2 separate regions of the Homo sapiens genome follow, and region 1 is linked to region 2. The links are contacts of gene promoters, found by promoter capture Hi-C in blood cells and fetal thymus (Javierre and others, 2016). All regions are on one chromosome and are shown on one strand. The core of a region is centred on a gene start or on the middle of the fragment in contact, and the rest is flanking DNA. Distances in the headings are between cores, read along the strand shown. Region 1 overlaps BTBD16 (BTB domain containing 16). Region 2 holds the start of ARMS2 (age-related maculopathy susceptibility 2).

Region 1 (5,294 bases), core at 1,521-4,020, 130 kb after region 2:
AAAAGAAGAAGAGAACGGCTGTGTGGGGAACTAGTTTTAGCAGCTGGTTTCAGGATCAGTTCTGCTATACTCAGTGTTAATACCAAGCTCCAGTTAACTTCCTCACGGAGCTGAAGTTCAGCGCTGGGTTGAGAAGATCCAGTTCTTTTTGAGAAGACACGCACACACAGACACGCATTCCCTGCCCTTCTTTTGAAATAACTCACTTCACAAAAATGGTCACTTTTCATAAATGGGGACAATGGGGAACAATCTTTCCAAGTCCCTTTGGAAATGCAGTCACTCCCTCAAGGCAGAGCCTGCATAGGACCCACCCAGGGTACTTGTAGATTATTTTTCCGTAAATCAAGAGTGGTGTCCAAGTCACACCCTGTCCCAGCTGGACAGAGGGCACCACTGGCCCTGTGGTCCCTTCTGTCAGAGATGCCCGCCAGCTTTCCCGGAACCGTTTATTTTCATAAGATCTGGGAATTCCTGGGACCGCCCAACTGCTCCACGCCAGTGATCCCAGAAGATAGGCCTAGAGGTGCAGAAAAGTTGTAGGCACAAAGACAAGTGAGTTCTGATTCAATTCAAGGGTTATTTACCAGTATCTACCCTGTGCCTGTCTCTGGAGGTGGACAGAGCAGCCATAAATAAGGTCAGGCGGATGCTTTCAGGAGTGCAGAACTATTGGTTCTGGAACCAGCCCTCCATTACCGAGGGTAAGTGGAGCCGGGGCTGGTGGGTGCGGTGCCTGTGCCCTGAAAACACTGACATCTTCGTGGGACAAATAACACTCGCTCACTTCCTTTCCTCAGATGATCTGAGCCTCCTCCTTCTTCTGCCTATTTTTCATCATGTCATGGAGGAACAGCTGAGGCGTCATCATGGCTGGGCAGCAGGTTCCAAGGGGCAAGAAGGGGCCAAGCTGACGCCGTCCTCCCTAGCCTTGCCCAGTGCTCTGGGGACAAGCCAGCACCTATGGCCAGCGCTCCACAGCCGGGTGCTGCCCTAAGCAGTGGGCCCCGGCTGGAGCTGTGGCTGAAATACAGATTCAGTTCCAGAAAGGAAAGGCCCCATCTGGAGGAAAGCATTGCCCTCCACCAGGAAGCTCCAGACGCCGGTTCTGCTGATGTGCCTTGGCATGGCAAGGCTGCTGGCAGGGGCAAGAGGAACCGAGACCCTGATCCTCCCTTTGAGAGGCACTCAGACTCGAAGGCCATTCAGCCAGGGCCTCTCTGGACAGCCATCCTGTCCCAGAGGATTTGGAAACAGCTTTGTTGAGACAGCTTGTTGGACTTTATGACCCCTTGGGGCCTCTGGGAAGTGGCAATGATGCCCACTTTTGTGGATGACATGGAGAGGCCATGAGTCATCTCATCATCCAACCAAGCTGGGACCCCCGAGGCAGGCAGACCAGGGTCCCGTCCCAGCCCAGCCAGCCACAGTCCTGTGACCGGGCCTCTCAGAGCTTCACTCTCCTCTGTCAAGTGGGAGCAGTAGCCACAGGTGGTGCCTTGGGGAGAAGGGAGGAGTAAAGCTGACAGTGTTTGGGAAGGGCTTGGGCCAGCTGCTGGCTCCCAGTGAGTCCTCAACATCTATAAGCACCACCATTGTCCTCCCGCCCCAGGGAAAGTGAATGGACTCAAGCAGCATCAAATGCAGGCAATTGTTCCTGGTGGTATTCATCATCATTGCCACCCTCCAAATCACCCAAGTTATGGGCCACCTCAAAGATAGAAAGTGGTGTCCTCAGCTTCTGATTTCCTGAAATCTCAAAGGATCTAAGGGTTGTGGTCCACCCTCAGAACTGATCAATATAACCCGGCTCTGGGAGCCTAGCAAGGTCCACTGTCTTAGAGCCAGTGTCCTACACAGGCCACTCAGGGCTAGTCCAGCACATTTTCCATTTTACTTGGCGCCACTTAACTGTCTGGGAGCGGAGGCACCTGCTCCTCTCTGGTCCAGTGGTGAGTACATTCACATGGTGTCACGTAAGATGGGAGGGAGCAAGCAGCTGCTAAGTCTGGGGACTACAGTGCTTGGCTACACTGGTGGACTCAAAGACTGGCATGGTTTCCCTGGTACTGCGCTCTGTTTGTGCAAAGACCTCTTTTGGTTTAGCACTTATTTTTTTGAGACACCTTCAGGCGATGGTCTATGCCTCCCAAAGTTCACTGAGAAACCCTGGGGCATGACCCCTCTAGGGAAGACAGTTCACAGTTCCTTGCTACTGAAAGATACATCCAGGTTGGCCCTGGGTCCTACTTGCCAGACCCTGGGGACAAATCTCCCATAGACTCGGAAAGACAGTACCTGGGGACAAGTCTCCCTCTGATGGGTACATATTGTATTTTAGAGGTGCTCTTCGCCACAACTTTCTCACTTCCTCTACCCTGTCATCTGCTGGAGCCTTCCACCCTTCCTGCGAGTATCAGGCCCACAGCTCTGATAGTCCAAGCACTTCAGATTTTAGCCTTAACATACATATATGCTACAGCATGATGAACCTGGAAGCAGTAAGCCAGGCGCAAGGGTGAATGCTGGATGATTCTACTCTATGAGGTACCTAGAGTCATCAAATTCGTAGAGACAGAAAGTAGAACGGTGGCTGCCAGGGGCTGGGGAAGGGGAATGGGAGTTGTTTCATGGGTAGAGTTTCAGTTTGGGAAGATGGAAAAGTTCTGGAGATGGCTGCACAACAATGCGAATAAACTTAACGCCACTGAACTGAACACGTAAGAATGGTTCACATGGGAAAAATTCATGCTATGCATATTTTGCCCCAGTTGAAAAAAGACATTAGGGTTAAAAGTGACTTTGCTTATTTGAGAAACACCTGAACTAACATATTAAATTTTAAGACAACGTTTGAAAAAAATACACATTTTAGGGCAATAACTCACAATGAGAAGAGAAAATGGCTTTTTTTTTTTCTCAAAATATAACTCAGCATAGAAGACTTGGGACACTCCTGAAATCAAAGAACCAGAAAATGGAGGCCAGCCACAGTGGCTCACGCCTGTAATCCCAGCACTTTGGGAGGCCGAGGTGGGTGAATCACCTGAGGTCAGGAGTTGGAGACCAGCCTGGCCAATATGGTAAAACCCCATCTCTACTAAAAATACAAAAATTAGCCAGGCATGGTGGTGGGTGCCTGTAATCCCAGCTACTCGGGTGGCTGAGGCAGGAGCATTGCTTGAACATGGGAGGCAGCAGTTGCAGTGAGCCAAGATCATGCTACTGCACTCCAGCCTGGGCAACACAGCGAGACTCCATCTCAAAAAAAAAAAAATCTATCTATCTATATATACAAAACCAGGAAATGGTCCTCTTGGCTCCTAACACTCAAGTGTGGTAAATGAAACAATAATTCCTGCTGCCACCCCCACATCATAACCTACCAAAGGTCACCACATTTTAGAACCCCTGTCACATGCTGTCCTGGGCCTTTTCTTTGAGTCAGGGCTGACCTACCCATCAGTCCTGGTGAGTGTGTGTTGTTACCTCCATGCACGGTGCTTAGGGTGCTTGCCCAAAGTCTACAGGCAGTGAATGGCAGAGGTGGGGCTGAGACTCGGGGCTGACTTCTTCTAACATACATCTGATTTATTGCTTGTCTCTGCTCCTAGATTGCAAGCTCCATGATGACAGGGTTTGTGTCTGCATTGTTTATTGTTGTACTCTTGGTGTCTTTTATAGTGCCTGGCACTTAACTTGCAATATGTTGGGTGAATTAATTGGATGAATGACCTGGTCCCTGCCAACTTTCCAGCCTCATTTCCATCATCCCATCCCTCCATTCACCCACAACTTATCTTCTAGGCCAGTAGGGCCAGCCCTGGTGCACATGCTCACACACACTTGCTGCACATACAGGCCAGTCTATGCCACTATCTCCATGCCCATGTGGTCCTGTCTGCTGTCACCATGACCTATCAGCTTTTCACTGAGACCAAGTTCAATGTCCTTCTGTCTGTCAAGATGGTCCTGACCCTAGCACAAAGGGAAATCCTGTCTAATCATAACCACAGCTGCCCTTTTTAAGAAACTCCTACACCCAGACTCTTGTGCTCCTTCCACTTCTCCATGCTTATTGTTGAAGGTATGTTTTGGTGCTTCTCAATATGCCTGGGAAGCCAAGAAGCAACATGGCGGAAGTGGAAAGTTAGTAAGAACTAAGCATAATATTTAGGGACCTTGAGAACAAGAGAGACTCAGGTTCCAGAGATCCAAGTTAAAGGGGAGCAGAGTCATCACCTCTCAGAGCAAGAGAAGACACAACAAGGCAAGAAGCATGAACGTCAGATAATGAGAAATCCTCTTGACCCAGAATATACCAACCTCCCTGCACAAGGCTTTGTTGAGCTATTCTAAAAGAGAACAATTTAATGGCCCTAATGTCCATGACTCATGGGATATTTCAAAATTAATGTGCTGGTAAAGAGATCAGTGTTGACACACCAGGGTTGCCCAGTTTCATGCTAACTCTGGCTACATCTGCAAATGCCATTCATGAATCACAAGAGGCACATGGCCTCGCCCACCCTGGGGACACAGCATCATAGCACATTGCCCTCAAGAAATCAGTGGGCTCAGGGCACCCATGGTACAGGGCATGGCAGGGAAGCTCTCCTTAAAAGTTTCCCCCTGCGGTCCCTTGGGAATAGTATGTGGGGGGAATGGGTGGGGGAAGGTGCTGTTGGGTTCACCAGTGCACACCCATGCAGCCAGCACATGCTCTTTTTCTCTCCGCAAAGAGGAGCTAAGAGGAGGAATTCATCCAGTGCACAAGTGAGATCAGAGAAGGCTTTCTGGAACCGGCTTTGTCAAGCTCTGTAAAGGCTGGGTCAGATTTGGGTAGGGCACAGGAAAGAAGAGACTCAGCTGGAGAATCAGGGGAATCTAGAAGTTGGGATCATATGGGAATTGGCTTCATTGGCTACATTCAAATTACTTCCCTCTGGTGAGGTGGAAGCTCATTGCCAGAATCTACCCTTCAGTGTCTGAGAGATACCTATTTAGTGATTATAAATCAGCTAAGGATTAGAATTACATGTCTGTTATGATTTGCCCTTGATCCTAAGAGCTAAGAGTGTCAGAAGACCTAGAAGACCAAGGTCAACCCCAGGACCACCATCAATTTGCAAAAGGAGCCTAAGTAACCTCCTCATTATCCCTGGGCCTTAGCTTATTCAACTGCAAAATGAAAGGGTGAGACCAGATGATCTCTAAGGCACTTTCCAGCATCGACCTTCTTTGATTTAGTAAAGTGAGTAATTTACAAACTGACATGAACTGAATGCATTTTG
Region 2 (5,119 bases), core at 63-2,562:
CACTCTCCATGGTAAAGTATCAGACAGATACAATTCAAACAGAGCCCCAGGCAGCCACCGAAAGGTCTTGAATGACAGCTTGTCAATTTCTGTCACTCGGGAGCAGCTTGAAAAGCTGAGCGCGCTCACATTTAGAACATGCTGCCATTTAGGCAAAATGGTTTAACATTGAATCAAGGACATTATGAGCCAGAATTTTAAATCTGCTTGTAAAAAACAAAAATTAAGAGAGGGAAGGGGTTCAACCTTTGTGTTCTCTCATTTGTCTAATTATATATACTATGGCAAGCACAAAGCGCCACAGTTCCGTAAGCATTAGAAAGCATTTACTAAGCTTATTTGGCAACATGGTCTCTAAGCTGCTTGATGTCTAAATTTTAAACCAACGTGACCTGTAAGGCCCAGATTCTTTCTCTACAAACTTGCATTGTTGTTTTCTTACACATACAGCCAAGGCATTTTTTTTAATCCATAAATGAGCAGGAAAAATGAGCACTGGAAAGCCGTGAGAATATTGAAAGAATGGTACAGCTTTCTAAATGACTCCTCTAACAACCCGGACGAGAAGCAGGCTGAGGTTTCCACCTCCTTCAGTAAACCCTAAAGCCAATTCACCGGCTTGAGGGGCCACTCAGATGGCCTTCTATAAGCTTTGGGTTTCTGCTCACCCCATCACTTTCTCAGACCTACTGCGTCTTCTTGTTTCCTTTTTCTGGCATGTAGCAGGTGCATTGGAAGTATTTACTGATATTCCCAATTCTCCAGCTATTCAACCAGAGGAAGGCTGAATTGCCTAGGCCTCCCTGTGGCCAGTGGTGCTCAAACCTGAGCATGCATCAGAAGCACCTGAAGGCTGGTTAAAATGCAAGCTGCAGGGCACCACTCCAGAATTTCTGATTCAATAGGTCTGGGGTAAGGCCTGATCATCTGCATTTCTTACCAGTGTCAGGTGGTGCTGAGGCTGCTGGAACCTCCTCTGGGTTCCAGCAGGAGAGAAGAAGGCTGGTAAGCAGAGCTCAGTGTGGATTTTAGCAGCTGGGATCATGGAGTGTGATAAAGACAGTTTGCTCCTCTGCTTGTCACTGGCTCCTTCTCCACCAACTCCAGGGTCCAGCACAGACTCTCGCAGAGTGGAAATGAAGGACACAGGAACCACCGAGGAGGACAGACTTGCCATCTCAGGCCCTCCTTTCCCCTCCGCCTCAGTTACCATCGGTCCTGGGTATAGGCGCAGCATGTAGGGTACAGGGACATAATGTGGTGACAAAGGTGCTGTCCCCTTGCCAAGCCAGCTGCCATCTCACTCAGCCAGGAGCATTGTCTTTTCCCGTCACACAAAAATGCCCCCAGGAGTCAGGGCGCCCTGATAACTCCACCCTGAATTGTTGGGTGGTCTCAGGGAGGGTCCACCCCTCAGTCCTGCTCTGCCAGAGGAGGCAACAGAGGTCCCTAGTATCCATTGAAATCATCTGTGAAGCTTTTAAAAAATGCAGAGACCCAGGGATTTGAAAAAAAAAAAAAACCTTGATTGTAGATCATAGTATTGAATCAATGTTGATTTTCCAATTTTGATCATGTTACTGTGGTATGAGAAAATTTTTTTTAAGAAAAACACACTGAAATATTTAGAAATAAAGGACGTGCAACTTAAAGCCTCCAACTTAAATGTTTTAAATGTTTCACATGCTTTAAATGTTTCCAAGAACTTGAATGATGTAGCGAGGGTGGTAAGCATTCGGGAAATCTGAGATAAGGGTCAATGAGAGTTTTGGGGGTTTTGGGATTTTTTGTTGTTTTTTTGTTGTTGTTGTTGTTTTACTATTTTTCAACTTTTCTCTAAACCTAAAATTATTTCAAAATAAAAAACTTTTTTTTTTGAGATGGGGTCTCATTCTGTTGTCCAGGCTGGTGTGCAGTGGTATGACCACAGCTTATTGTGGCCTCAACATCCTCGGGCTAAGGTGATCCTCCTACCTCAGCCACCTGAGTAGCTGGGACTACAGCTACAGACCACGCCCAGCTATTTTTTATGTTTTTTGTAGAGACCAGGTTTTGCCATGTTGCCAGGCTGGTATCGAACTCCGAGCTCAAGCAATCTACCTGCAAAAGTGCTAGGATTACAGGCATAATCCTAGCCCAGGCCCCCCAGCCTTTTTTTTTTTTTCTGAGACAGGGTCTCACTTTGTCACCCAGGCTGGAATCCAGTGGCATGATCATGGCTCACTGCAGCCTCATACTCCTCGGCTCAGGTGATCCTCCCACCTCAGCCTCCCAAGTAGCTGGGACCACAGGTGTGCAGCACCACGCCTGGCTAATTTACTTTTTTTTTTTTTTTTTGGAGATGGGGTCTTACTATGTTGCCCAGGCAGGTCTTGAAGTCCTGGGCTCAAGTGATCCTCCTGCCTCGGCCTCCCAAAGTGTTGGGATTACAGGTGTGAACCACTTCTCCCAGCCAAACACTTTTTTAAAAGGAAAAAAAAAGCCGGGCGCCATGGCTCACGCCTGTCATCCCACCACTTTGGGAAGCCAAGGTGGACAGATCACGAGCTCAGGAGATCGAGACCATCATGGCTAACATGGTGGAATCCTGGCTCTACTAAAAATACAAAAATTAGCTGGGCATGGTGGTGCGTGCCTGTAATCCCAGTTACTCGGGAGGCTGAGGCAGGAGAATAGCCCGAACCAGGGAGTCAGAGGTTGCAGTGAGCCAAGATCACGCCACTGCACTCCAGCTTGGTGACAGAGCAAGACTCTGTCTCAAAAAAATAAAAAATAAAAGGAAAAAAAAAACTATTCCAGACCAACTGAATTAAAAACTCTAAGAGCACAAATAAACACATGAGAAGATGCTTGGCATCTCTAGTCATCAGCAAATCAACAAATCAAAACCACATTGAGATACTACTTCATAGGCACTAAGGTAGCCAGAATCAAAAAGTCAGATGATAACAAGTATCAGCAAGGATGTGGAGAAATCAGAATCCTCATGCACTGCTAGTGGGATTGTAAAATGGTATAGCTGCTTTGGAAAACAGTCTGGCAGTTCTTCAAACAGAGTGAATATATGATCCAGCATTTCCATTCCTAGGTAGCTACCCAAGAGAAAGGAAAACATGTGTCCATACAGAAACTGGAACACACATGTTCATAGCAGCACTATTCATAACAGCCCAAAGGTAGAAACAACCCAAATGTCCATCAACTGATAACAGATAAATTATGGCATATCCATAAAATGAAATACTATTCAGCCATAAAAAAGAATAAAATACCCACTACAACATGGTGAACCCTGAAAGCATGGGGCTAAATGAAAGAAGCCAGATACAAAAGACAACATATTATATGATTTCATTCATAAGAAATGTGTATAACAGGAAAATCTACAGATACAGAAAATAGATTTGTGCTTGCTTAGGGCTAGAAGAGTGGGGAGAGGCTGGGAACAGTGGCTCATGCCTGTAATCACAGCACTTTGGGAGGATGAAGCAGGAGGATTGCTTGAGGCCAGGACTTTGAGACCAGCCTAGGCAACATAGCAAAAACCCATCCCTACAAAAAATAAATAAATAAAAAATAAAATAAAATAAAATAAAATTAGTTTTTTTTTTTTTTTTTAGTTTAGTGTGACTGTGCACACTTGTATTCCCAGCTACTCGGGGGGCTGAGGTGGGAGGATTGCTTGAGCCCAGGACTTTAAGGCTGAAGCCATGATCGTGCCACTGCACCAGACTGGGTGACAGAGTGAGACTCAGTCTCTTAAAATTTTTTAAAATAGTTGGCCAGGTGCGGTGGCTCACACCTGTAATCCCAGCACTTTGGGAGGCCGAGGCGGGCAGATCACTTGAGGTCAGGAGTTCCAGATCAGCCTGGCCAACATGGTGGAACCCTGTCTCTACTAAAAATACAAAAATTAGCAGGGCATGGTGGCGCGTGCCTGTAATTCCAGAGGCTGAGGCAAAAGAATTGCTTAAACCCACGAGGCAGAGGTTGCAGTGAGCCGAGATTGCGCCACTGAACTCCAGCCTGGGTGACAGAGCCAGATTCCATCTCAACAAAAAAAAAGAAAAAAAAAAAATTTAATAGAAAATAAAAAGAATAGCTGAAGAGTATGGGGTTTCTTTTTGAGATAAGGAAAATGTTTTAAAATTGACTGTGTTGGCTGGACTCGGTAGCTCAAGCCTGTAATCCCAGCACTTTGGGAGGCCAAACCAGGCAGATCACTTGAGGTCAGGAGTTCGAGACCAGCCTGGCCAACATGGTGACACCCCATCTCTACCAAAAATACAAAAATTAGCCGGGCGTGGTGGCACACACCTGTAATCCAAGCTACTCGAGAGGCTGAGGCAGGAGAATCACTTGAACCAGGGAGGCAGAGGTTGCAGTGAGCCAAAATCACACCATTGCACTCCAGCCTGGGCGACTCCATCTCAAAGAAAAAAAAAAAATTGACTGTGCTGTTGATGGTTGTCCATATCCATGAATATACTAAAAACCACTGAAATGTATACTTTAAATGGGTAGATTGTATTTTATTTGAATTGTATCGCAATAAAGCTATTTTTAAAAACTCAGGGGGAGGGGGCAGGGACTGAGCATCCCTAGCGTCTCTAATTTGAAGAGCTCCCAGGGACTCCAATGAGCAGCAGGGCTGAGAACCACACACAGGTAATTTCTGTGTACTGACACTATCTGGATCCACGTTTAAGCCACCCAGTTGGTCTAGAGCCAGAGTAATGTCCTTAGAGATGTGAAATTCAGCAGCACCAGGTATTTTATTTGTCTAACTCATAACCCTTATTTAATCAGCCAGTCTGTGTCGGGTGGGCCACCACATTGTCTTCCTCAGTCAGGTTGGGAGTTGCCTGGCACAGGAGCCTGCCTTGCCCACTATGCCCAGACAGCGCCCGCCACGTAGCAGGCGCTAGTCTCATGTTGCTTGTATTAAACAGATGCTTGCAGCAGAAGGTATAGCACTGAAGTAATGCATTTTTATCTTAACTTTCATTTACTTTCTTCCCGTAGAATTGATTCCATTCTTGATGTGACTTTCAGCTGTCAGCTGTCTGCACTCCCAGACGGGGTGATGGCCTGGCACCAACGGAGCATTACCCTGATG

The links. The method cuts DNA at HindIII sites, captures the fragments that hold promoters and counts their contacts. A CHiCAGO score of 5 or more calls a contact.
Region 1: a fragment that was not itself captured here is called in contact with the fragment with the promoter of ARMS2 in region 2 in 6 of 17 cell types (non-activated CD4 T cells, activated CD4 T cells, total CD4 T cells and 3 more); the score reaches 7.2 in non-activated CD4 T cells.

What each region holds. Positions count from the first base shown.
Region 1 is chr10:122,323,664-122,328,957 of GRCh38, reverse strand. All of the region lies in intron 10 of BTBD16 (BTB domain containing 16), which reads right to left. Among named protein-coding and RNA genes, the nearest start is that of PLEKHA1, 48 kb to the left of the region's middle. The HindIII fragment of the contact is 6,579 bases long and covers 1-5,294 here.
Region 2 is chr10:122,450,846-122,455,964 of GRCh38, reverse strand. It overlaps ARMS2 (age-related maculopathy susceptibility 2), which reads right to left and starts at 1,312. Exons shown (of 2, transcript NM_001099667.3): 1 at 941-1,312. The coding sequence starts at 1,237. HTRA1-AS1 (HTRA1 and ARMS2 antisense RNA 1) reads left to right here. Exons shown (of 3, transcript XR_946382.3): 3 at 5,026-5,119. The HindIII fragment of the contact is 827 bases long and covers 653-1,479 here.